Linked DNA regions of Homo sapiens: region 2 is linked to region 1. Evidence: promoter capture Hi-C in 16 types of primary human blood cells and fetal thymus (Javierre and others, 2016). All regions are on one chromosome and are shown on one strand. The core of a region is centred on a gene start or on the middle of the fragment in contact, and the rest is flanking DNA. Distances in the headings are between cores, read along the strand shown. Region 1 holds the start of AADACL3 (arylacetamide deacetylase like 3). Region 2 overlaps VPS13D (vacuolar protein sorting 13 homolog D).

The links. The method cuts DNA at HindIII sites, captures the fragments that hold promoters and counts their contacts. A CHiCAGO score of 5 or more calls a contact.
Region 2: a contact is called between a fragment that was not itself captured here and the fragment with the promoter of AADACL3 in region 1, in 1 of 17 cell types (fetal thymus). The highest score is 6.0, in fetal thymus.

What each region holds. Positions count from the first base shown.
Region 1 is chr1:12,711,961-12,717,699 of GRCh38, forward strand. AADACL3 (arylacetamide deacetylase like 3) reads left to right here and starts at 4,150. Exons shown (of 4, transcript NM_001103170.3): 1 at 4,150-4,384. The coding sequence starts at 4,217. RefSeq lists an enhancer at 3,625-4,824. The HindIII fragment of the contact is 3,124 bases long and covers 1,333-4,456 here.
Region 2 is chr1:12,261,613-12,266,894 of GRCh38, forward strand. It overlaps VPS13D (vacuolar protein sorting 13 homolog D), which reads left to right. Exons shown (of 70, transcript NM_015378.4): 13 at 289-468; 14 at 5,269-5,282. Among named protein-coding and RNA genes, the nearest start is that of VPS13D, 34 kb to the left of the region's middle. The HindIII fragment of the contact is 485 bases long and covers 3,432-3,916 here.

The sequences.
Region 1 (5,739 bases), core at 2,900-5,399:
GGTCCTAAGAATTGGTCAATTTGGTCTGTCACTCTGTAAGGGTCATCTAGTAGTGGTTTAAGCTCCTTTTTAAAATTCTGGACTTCTGAACTGGTTAAGGGAACATTTTCAAAGCCAATGGCCCCCTACTCCTTGTGGTACCTCTTTCAAATGGAAGAGAATTGGGACTGACCCCTTAGGTATGGAGGGAATTGGGAAATTCTGAATATCTTTTTTTACATTGTTCTACCTCATGCTGGATTCCTTTTAGAGAGGGGTAAAAGTATTTAGGTTGGGAGGGAACAGGCTGGTGGGATGGTAATTCCCAAGAGTCAGTAAGGAGGAGGGGTAACGTGAGTAGAGGAAGGATTTGGAATGGGATATGAGGCAGCAGTAGCTGCCTGAGGGGAAGGATTGGGGATACTGAGCAGGGGAAATAGTCTAGGGGATTCCATGCACTGGAATTTTTAGGCATGAGAGCTGGCTCCTCTGACTTTTCATTTTGAGTGCCAGATTGGGTTTTTAAGGGAAAAAGGAGGGCAGGCCCTTCCCTCCAGCAAAGAGCATAGCCTAGTTCTTCTTGAGACACTGAATTTTATAATTAACATATTGGATTAGAAGCTGACACATTACATCCTCATTTGACCCAAACTTTGGCCAGAAGATTGAGGGTTTGAGGATGGGTCCCTGAGTCCAAATAAAACATCAATATTTTATCGTTTTTTTGCTTTTTCTTATGTTTAGTCCTTTCATTATCCTTCCAGTATTTTAGCATGAGACCTAGGGGGCTCTCTGGGGGGATATCTTTGCTACTATCTTTATCCTTCTTGCTCCCTATCTTGCTTGGGGTATTTCCCATATTGATGGTTTTGGGGTAAGGTTCAACTTCCCTTACTGGAAATTTCTTGTCTTTTGGGGTGAGGCTCAATTTCCCTTATTGGAAATTTCTTGCCTTTTCTACTACTGGAGGTTTTTGTGAAGTTCAATCCCCCCTAATGGAGATGTCTCATCTCTTTTTAACCTCTAAGCCACCCCAACAAAGGAGTACTTCACCGCCCCCCCGCGACATTCTTACCTTGGTCCCAACCAACAAGGAAATACTTTACCAGCTCCTGCAGTGTCTTTTCCTCGGTCCATGTGCAGACTTTAGTGGCCATTATGGAGGATCCTTTACCCCAGGTTGCTGGCCAGTTTCTTTCCACATTGCTGAGAGCTCGGGTTATTTCTCACATGGGGTGGGTCCTGATTTTTCACCCCTGAGGCCCTCACAAGGGGGCAGGGTGCGCCTCCTCCTGAGACAGAAGCAGAGACCGCTCCTGGAGGGAAATGTAATCCTGGACGTATAAATTGAGAAGCTTAACAGAAGATACAAGGTCCAAATAAAAGAAGGAGAAAAATAAGTATTAAAGGACTAAGAATTGGGAGGACCCAGGACATCCAATTAGAGAGTGCCCAAGAGGGTTGAGCATAATTACTTGCTTGGTTGGTGAGTTTTTGGGAAAAGACCATTAGTCCGTTTTACCTTTCCTGACCATATCCAGGCCATCACCAATCATTCTATATGACAAATGCTCCCTTTAACAACCCCACAATATTGCCCTTTACCACAAAATCTTCTGTCAGCTTAATCTCTCCCACTCTAAGTTCCCATGCTGCCCCTAATCCCCCTCGAAGCAGCCCTGAGAAACATCACCCATTATCTCTCCATAGTACCCCGAAAATTTTTCACTGCCCCAACACTTCAACACTATTTTGTTTTATTTTTCTTATTAATATAAGAAGACAGGAATGTCAGGCCTCTGAGCCCAAACCTGCATGTATACATCCAGATGGCCTGAAGCAAGTGAAGAATCACAAAAGAAGTGAAAATGGCTGCTTCCTGCCTTAACTGATGACATTCCACCATTGTGATTTGTTCCTGCCCCACCTTAACTGAGCCATTAACCTTGTGAAACCTTCTCCTGGCTCAGAACCTCCCCCACTGAGCACCTTGTGACCCCCGCCCCTGCCCGTAAGAGAAAAACCCCCTTTGACTGTAATTTTCCACTACTCACCCAAATCCTATAAAACAACTCCACCCCATCTCTCTTCGCTGACTCTCTTTTCGGACTCAGACTGCCTGCACCCAGGTGAAATAAACAGCCTTGTTGCTCACACAAAGTCTGTTTGGTGGTCTCTTTACACAGACACGCGTGACACCCAGCACTTTGGGAGGCCAAAGCGGGTGGATCACCTGAGGTCAGGAGTTCGTGACCAGCTTGGCCAACATGGTGAAAACCCATCTCTACTAAAATAACAAAATAAAAAATAACTAAAAATACAAAAAAAATTAGCTGGCATGGTGTCACACACCTGTAGTCCTAGCTATTCGGGAGGCTGAGGCAGGAGAATTGCTTGAACCCGGGAGGCGGAGGTCGCAATGAGCTGAGATTGTGCCATTGCACTCCAGGTTGGGTGACAGAGAGAGACTCAGTCTCTCTCTCTCACACACACACACAAATAAATCAATAAAAATAAAAATTAGATGGGCATGCATGGTGGTGCACACCTGTAGTCCCAGCTACTCCAGAGGCCGAGGTGGGAAGATTACTTGAGCCTGGGAGATGGAGGCTGCAGTGAGCCAAGATTGCACCACTGCACTCCAGCCTGGGTGACAGCATGAGACCCCATCTCAGAAAAAAAAAAAAAGAAAGAAAGAAAGAATGCTTCAGGCTGGCTTCCTGACATCTAATTAAGTCTTCCCACGTGCCAGACTCATACTAGTGCTTGACACAGGCTGGTGTTCTTGAGGCAGCCAACAGTCCTATGGAGTGGGGAGTACTATTATTATCCCCATTTGACAAACTTGGAAACTGAGGCTGATTGCACATAACGTGCTCATGATCAGCATGCTGGCATTTGGCAGAGCCAGGATTCAAATTCAAGTGTTGCAAATGCAGGGTTTCTCAACCACCATACTATCGGCTTGCTGGACTGCATAAGTCTTTGTGCATTGCAGGATGTTTGGCAATATCCCTGGCCTCTTGTCTATGACACTCTAGAACCAGCCCTCTGGCCCTTCCTGAGTGGGGACAACAAAAATGTTTCTGATATTCCCATATCTTCTGGGAGGTAAAATCTCTCCTGTCTGAGAACCACTGCTCTCTCACTCAAGCTGGGAGGCGGGAGACACAGCAGATATTACTATTGTTACTGCAGATGTGGGACTTGGTTGTTAGGGAAGATTTCCAATGGTGACATCAACCTCTGACCTGACCTGGAAAGGCAAGCAAGCACAGTTTCCCAGATTTGCAAGAAAGAGGAAAGCAAGCACAGTTTCCCAGATTTGCAAGAAAGAGGACAAAGCCTGTCTATTCATTCTCTCACTCCATAGGCATTTGCTGAGCACCTACAAAGTACCAAGCCCCAATCCAGCCTCTGGTGATAAAATGGCACAAAAAGAAAATTCCTGTCCTCCCAGACAATAAACAGACAAGTGAGGCAGGTGATGATAAAGGTCACAGGGAAAAACCAAGCAGTGGGGGGGTGAGGAAGGTGGGGGATGGGGAAGATGGGGGATGGGGAAGGTGGAGGATGAGGAAGGTGGGGGATGTGGAAGGTGGGGGGGTGGAAAGGGTGGGGGATGGGGAAGGTGGGGCTGGGGAAGGTGGGCGTAGGCATGCTGGCGGGAGTTAAATTTTAAATAAGATTGCCAGGGATGGCCTCACTGAGAAGGCAACATTTGAGCAGAGACCAGCAAGAGGGGAGGCATGGAGTCTAGCCGAGGTCTAGGGGAAGAATGGTGTACAGAGAATGGCTTGCCGTACAACAGCTCTGGGACATCCTCCACAGGCTGATGGATGGATGATAAGCTGGAGTTGAATCACAGAGTGGGGGGATGAGGTCCGAGGGCCGGTGGGAGGAATCGTGTTTATGATGTCCATTGTGACTTGGTGGCTTATCCAAGACTATTTCTAGTTAGCAGTGCCAGATTGTAAGCTGGGACTCTAGAACTTTCTTTTGTGGCTGGATCCGGCTGGATGGGCCACTTTCTTCTCTGCATGGGCCCTGTCCTAGAACCACATCCTCACCTGAGCCTGTGACTCACCTGGGCTGGGCCAGTGTTTGTGGGACCCAGGGAGGTGGGGGAGGACAGGTGTGACTTATAAGTGGAGGAGGTCTGCTGGCTCTGAACCATGTCCTAAATGGTTTACACTGCGCACAGCTTCCTCTCAGCCCGCTCTGAGCTGGAAGCAGCATGTGGGACCTGGCCCTGATCTTCCTCGCAGCAGCCTGCGTGTTCTCACTAGGGGTCACTCTGTGGGTCATTTGCAGCCATTTTTTCACTGTGCACATCCCTGCAGCGGTTGGCCACCCTGTGAAACTGAGAGTCCTCCATTGCATCTTCCAGCTGCTGTTGACTTGGGTGAGTTTTGTGCTTTATGTGTCCCCTCCAGCTGACCATTAAGGAAGGCGGCAGGAAAAATCACACACCGGAAGCTTCTAGCTGAATGAACACCGGTATCATGGGGCCTGCAGTGACAGCTGATCAGACCTTCTGAAATGTGCATAATCCCTATTAGGTGGTTCTCAGCCTCTTTGGGTGTTTCTGAAGCTGGCCCTGGCTAATATTCACAAAATTCAAAGAATGATCTGCTTTCTCAGTTAACAGAAAGAAAAAACCAGTCTGGTTCTATTCACCTGAGTGTCTCCCGCTGACTTTCTTTTTGTTGTTGTTGGTTTGTTTTATTTTTAAAATTGAGGTAAAATATGCATATAAAATTTACCATCTTTCGCATTTTTAAGTGTACCTTTCACGTGTCCATAAATGTGTCCATATTATTCACAGCACTCACCACTCTCAGAAGTTGTGAAGATATGAATGAATTTTCCTGAGTCTCTGGGCCCCCACTGCTATCTACCTGTTAGCTAGAGCCAGCAAGCCACAAAGTAAAAGGGTAGCGGATGAGTAGATTAGTGCCGGTGAGCAAAATTACAGAATGTGACTTTAAAAATATGTTGTTGCTTTTGAGAGCTAGAAAGCTGCCTAGGGAATATAGTTTGGTTCTGCTTCTGGTGTAATTTGTTAAAATACCTGTAAATGGAACTGTGTAGGTGTTGCCAATACGGATTTCTTGTACTTTTTCTTGTGCCTTGACAGAAACTGAATATACAAAATATTTTTTGTAAGTTTCTTACATAACGAAAAGCAATTGCCAGTGCCTCTTCTCAAGAGACACCCTAGGTGTGTCTTCTATGCTATTCAAAATAATTTCTATGCTATTCAAAAGAATGTAGCTATTACCTAAAAGAGAAGATCCCGGGAACTCTAGGCTTCTGATCTCCAGTCAGCTTTTATAAGATGCAGTGATTGGGTCCTAGGTTTTCCTACCCTTGATGCTCAGATTCTGTAGTCCAGGCTCCCAAATACAGTGACTCGATTTCCTCTTTTGCAAAGTAGGGAAAATTGCTCCTACTTCACAGGGTTTTGTGGAGACTCCATGAATAACCCTCTCCAGAAGGCTTATTATAATGCCTGACACAGAGGGAGCCCTCCTTAAATAGTAGCCATTGTTACTCTTTGTTGATTCTTTTATTTTTTATGCAAAGATGTGTTATGCAACTGCTGTGTGTCCTACGCCAGTCCTGGGCTCTAGGGCCAATGACAGGTGAGAGAGGTAAAGTTCCACAGGTCTGCCTTTAGGGAGCTTGTAGGGTCCAGGCAGTGGGCAGCGGGGAAGTGGTCTATAAAGAAGCTAACCCACAATAGAACAAGCTACA
Region 2 (5,282 bases), core at 2,424-4,923, 450 kb before region 1:
CAGATGCGGACCATTTCACCATGCTGGGCAGCACTGCTTTATACCATCCCTTATCATGAATCTTATCCTCCCTGGTTTGATAATAAGTTGATAAGATCCCTTAAAAAACAATTAGGGTTGTTTTACATTAGGAAATATTATAAAATAGTCACCCATGACTTTGGAGTTCTTTCTTAACAAAGGGAAAAATAGTTAAATAACATCATCATAACTGTGATCAGTCTGCTTGCTGGTGCTTTTTTATTCTTCCACGTTTTTTCTTACAGTCTTTTCTCCCTTACCATTTAGGCACTGAGGAGTTTTTTGACCCCACTGCAGATGCCTCGTGTATGAACACGTATACAAAGCGAGATCATGTCTTTGCCAAACTGAATTTGCAGTTGCAGCGAGGTACAGTGACTCTGTTACACAAGGAGCAAGGAACTCCTCAAATGAATGAAAGTGCTTTCATGCAGCTCGAGTTTTCAGGTACACTGCCCCCAAGAAACTACCTGCCACTGTTGTCTCTCTGTGGGCCAATGTCCAGGCGATTCTCATTATTTGCTGTGGGGATAGTCTAGAAAGTCAGTGCGAAAACTGTATTAGCTAATGTGGAACCATTGCTCTTAGGGGAAATACTGGGTTAGGTTCATGTGAACCTCTGGTCATAACATTCATCAACTGATCAGTACCTAACCTTAATTTTTAAAATGCGTGTCTGTATTTAAAGACATTTAATATAGATATACAGACAGTCCTTGACTTAGGATAGTTTGACTTTGGATTTTTCAACTTTACAAGTGGCACAAGAGTTATACACATTCAGTAGAAGTCATACTTCGGATTTTGAATTTTGATCTTTTCCTGGGCTAGAGATAGGTAGTATGATATTCTCTGAAGATGCTGGGCAGCAACAGTGAGCCACAGCTCCCAGTCAGCCATGCGGTCATGAGGTAAGCAGCTAATAGTCTACAGTGGACTGTGTGGCCAGATGATTTTGCCTACCTTTAGGCTAATGTAAGTATTCTGAGCACTTTTAAGGTGGGCTAGGCCAAGCTGTGATGTCCAGTAGGTTAGGTATATGAAATGCATTTTTGACTTACTGTATTTTCTTTCTTTTTTTTTTTTTTGAGACAGAGTCTTGCTCTGTCGCCTAGGCTGCAGTGCAGTGGCATGATCTTGGCTCACTGCAACCTCTGCCTCTTGGGTTCAAGCGATTTTCCTGCCTCAGCCTCCTGAGTAGCTGTGACTACAGGCGCGCGCCACCATGCCCAGCTAATTTTTGTATTTTTAGTGGAGACAAGGTATCGCTACGTTGGCCAGGCTGGTTTTGAACTCCTGACCTCAAGCAATCTGTCCTCCTCGGGTTCCCAAAGTGCCAGGATTACAGGCCTGAGCCATTGCGCTCAGCTGATTTATGATATTTTCAACTTATGGTGGGTTTATCATAACTCCATCCTAAGTCAAGGAGCATTGTGTTATTGATTTATTAACATTGAACTCATGGCCTATAGCACTATACCTCATGCCTGAATGAAGTTTCTCTAATACTCATATTTTTTTTGTAACGCACATCACAGTCTTCTTGCACTCAGGACCACTAGGCAGCGTTTTAGCACTAGGGGCTTGTTTTAAACAGTGAAACCACAAACAAAAAGCACAGAAGCATGAAAAACATGGCGCCAAATAGAAGACCATGGGAGGGATGCTTGTTCACAGTGTGAGAGCTGAAATGAGGAGGCAGAGCGTTGCCATGTTTGAACTCAGGTGGGAATGTGCATATCAGGTGGCTTGAATTTTTTTCTGCTCTGTGAGTGTCTGAATGACAGAGTGCCATGAGGATTAATTTTGGAGTTACAAATTTTAGCAAGTAAACAAATGTGCAAATATGGAATCTGTGAATAATGAGGATTGACTTGACAGTATTTGCCTTCTTTTTGTGACTTTGAATTAAAGGTGTATAAATAAATATGCAGATGTTTTTGTGACTTTGAATTAAAGGTGTATAAATAAATATGCAGATGTTTGGACATCTCACAAATATTTTTATTTCGGTCCATAAAACAGCAGCTTATTTGAGATTCCTGAGTGGCTGAAGGACAAATGATTTTTTTTAAAAAGCCAGTTTGTTTGACTTCATAATGTAGAAAATTGAGCTGTCATAAACTTAGTATTAACTAGCAGATTACTTGAACTGAATTGAAAAGGCACTATTTAAAATTCCTTCTGCTAGGAAACTTCTAATGGTGTTTGTGTGTTTAGACAGCTGGATAGATACAGGCACACTTGATTTTATTGCACTTTGCCTTATTGCACTTCATAGACACCACATTTTTTACAAATTGACAGTTTAAAAATGAGCAAGTCTATAGGTGCCATTTTTCCAACAGCATGTGCTCACTTTGTGTCTCTGTGTCACATTTTAGTAATTTGCCCAGTATTTCAAACTTTTCCATTATTATTCTGTCTCTTATGGTGATCTGTAATCACCAATTTGTAATGTTATTATTGTATTTGTTTTGGAGTGCTATGAACCATGCCCATAGAAGATGGTAACTTAGTCAATATTGTGTATGTTCCAACTGCTCCACCGACTGGCCATTTCCTTGTCTCTTTTCCTCTCCTGGGGCCTCCCTATTACCTGAGACACAATGTTGAAATTGGGCTAATAACCCTACAATGGCTTCTAAATGTTCAGGTGAAAGGAAGAGTCACATGTCTCTCACTTTAAATCAAAAGCTAAACGTGATTAAGCTTAGTGAGGAAGACGTCGAAAGCTGAGATAGGCCAAAAGCTAGGCCACTTGTGCCAAACAGTTAGCCAAGTTGTGAATGCAAAGGAAAAGTTCTGGAAGGAAATTATTAGTAAAAGTGCTACTTCAGCGAACACATGAATGATCAGAAAGCAAAGCAGCCTTACTGCTGCAATGGAGAAAGTTTGGTCTGGATAGAAGATCAAAGCAGCCACAGCCTTTCCTTAAGCCAAAGCCTAATGCACAGCAAGGCCTTAACTCATTTCAGTTCTGGGATGGCTGGAAGAGGTGAGGAAACTGCAGAAGAAAAGTTTGAAGCTAGCAGAGGCTGGTTCATGAGTTTGAAGGAAAGAAGCCATCTCCATAACATAAAAGTGCAAGGTGAAGCAGCCAGTGCTGATGGGGAAGCTGCAGCAAGTTATCCAGAAGATCCAGCTAAGATCCTTGCTATGCTAAATGATAGATTTTCATTGTAGATGAAAAGGCCTTCTATTGGAAGAAAATGCCATCTAGGACTTTTCATAGCTAGAGAGGAGAAGTCAATGCCTGGCTTCAAAGCTTCAAAGAACAGGCTGACTCTCTTGTTAGGGGCCAGTGCAGCTGGTGACTTTAAGTTGCTGATTTACCTTTCTGAAAATCCCAGGGCCCTTAAGAATTATGCTCAATCTCCTCTGCTTGTGTTCTATCAATGGAGCAACAAAGCTTGGATGATGCCAGTACATCTGTTTACAGCATGGTTTACAGAAGATTTTAAGGCCACTATTGAGACCTACTGCTCAGAAAAAAAGATTCCTTTCAAAATATTACTGCTCGTGGATAATGCATCCAGTCACTCAAGAGCTCTGCTGGGAGAAGTATAAAGAAATTAGTGTTGTTTTCATGCCTGCTAACACAACATCCATTCTGCAGCCCATGGATCCAGGAGTAATTTCAACATTCAAGTTTGTTTGTTTCTTTAATTAATTGCTTAATTTATTCAGAGATGAGCTCTCACTTTTTTGGCCAGGGTGGTCTCAAACTCCTGGCCTCAAACGATCCTCCTGCTTCAGCCCCCAAAGTGCTGGGATTGCAGGTGTGAGTTACCACTCCCAGCCTCAACTTTTATTATTCAAGAAATACATTGCATAGGCTGTAGCTGCCATAAATAGTGATTCCTCTGATGGACCTAGGTAAAGTATATAGAAAAGCTTCGGGAAAAGATTCACCATTCTAGATGCCATGAAGAACATTTGTAATTCGTGGAAGGAGGTCAAAATATCAGCATTAACAGGAGTTTGGAAGAAATCAACCCTCTTGGATGACTTTGAGGGATTCAAGACTTAAGTGGAGGAAGTAACTGCAAATGTGGGGTAAATAGCAAGAGAACTAGAATTAGAAGTGGAACCTGAAGATGTGACTGAATTGCTGGAATCTCATGATCAAACTTGAATGGATAAAGAGTTATTTCTTACAGATGAGCAAAGAAGGTAGTTTCTTGAGATGGAATCTACTCCTGGTGAAGATACTATGAACACTGTTGAAATGACAACCCAAGGCTGGGCGTGGTGGCTCACGCCTGTAATCCCAGCACTTCGGGAGGCCAAGGCAGGAGGATCATTTCAGGCCAGGAGTTCACAACCAGCCTGGGCAACATAGCAAGACCCTATCTCTACTAAAAATTAAAAAAAAAATTAGTTGGTCATGGTGACATGCTCCTGTAGTCCTAGCTACGTGGCAGACTGAGAGGTAGGAGGATCCCTTGAGCCCAGGACTTTGAAGTTACAGTGAGCTATGATTGCACCACTGCACTCCAGCCTGGGTGACAAAGCAAGACCTTGTCTCAAAAAAGAAAACAAAATAAAAAAGGAAATGACAATAAAGTTTTTAGGATACTAAATCAACTTAGTTGCTAATGGCAGGGTTTGAGAGGATTGACTGTGGTTTTGAAAGAAATTCTACTGTGGTTAAATACATGCTTTATCAAACAGCATCACCTGCTACAGAGAAATCTTCTGTGAAAGGAAGAGTCAGTTGATGTAGCAAACTTCGTTGTTGTCTTATTTTAAGAAATCACCACAGTCACCCCAACACTTCAGCAACCACGCCTTGATCAGTCAGCAGGCATCATCATGTAGGCAAGGCCTTCCATCAGCAAAAAGATTACAACTTGCTGAAGATTCACAGGATTGTTAGCACTTTCTAGCAATAAAATATTTTAAAATTAAGGTATCTATATTGTAGTTTCAGGCATAATGCTATTGCACACTCAGTACACTACTGTATAGTGTCAACATCACTTTTCTATGCACTGGGAAACCAAAACATTTGTGTGACTTGCTTTATTGTGATCCTCACTTTATTGCAGTGGTCTGGAACCAAACCCGCAATATCTCCAATATGTGCCTGTAGATAGATAGGGTTTTTTTGTTTGTTTGTTTAATTTCAAGGAAAAATAGTTCATCTATAATAATCTTCTGTAAAATAGAATATCTAATATTTTCAAAAACACATTAGGCTCTCATAAGCATTGTATCAACTATTTTATTTATCTTTTATAGATGTAAAACTTCTA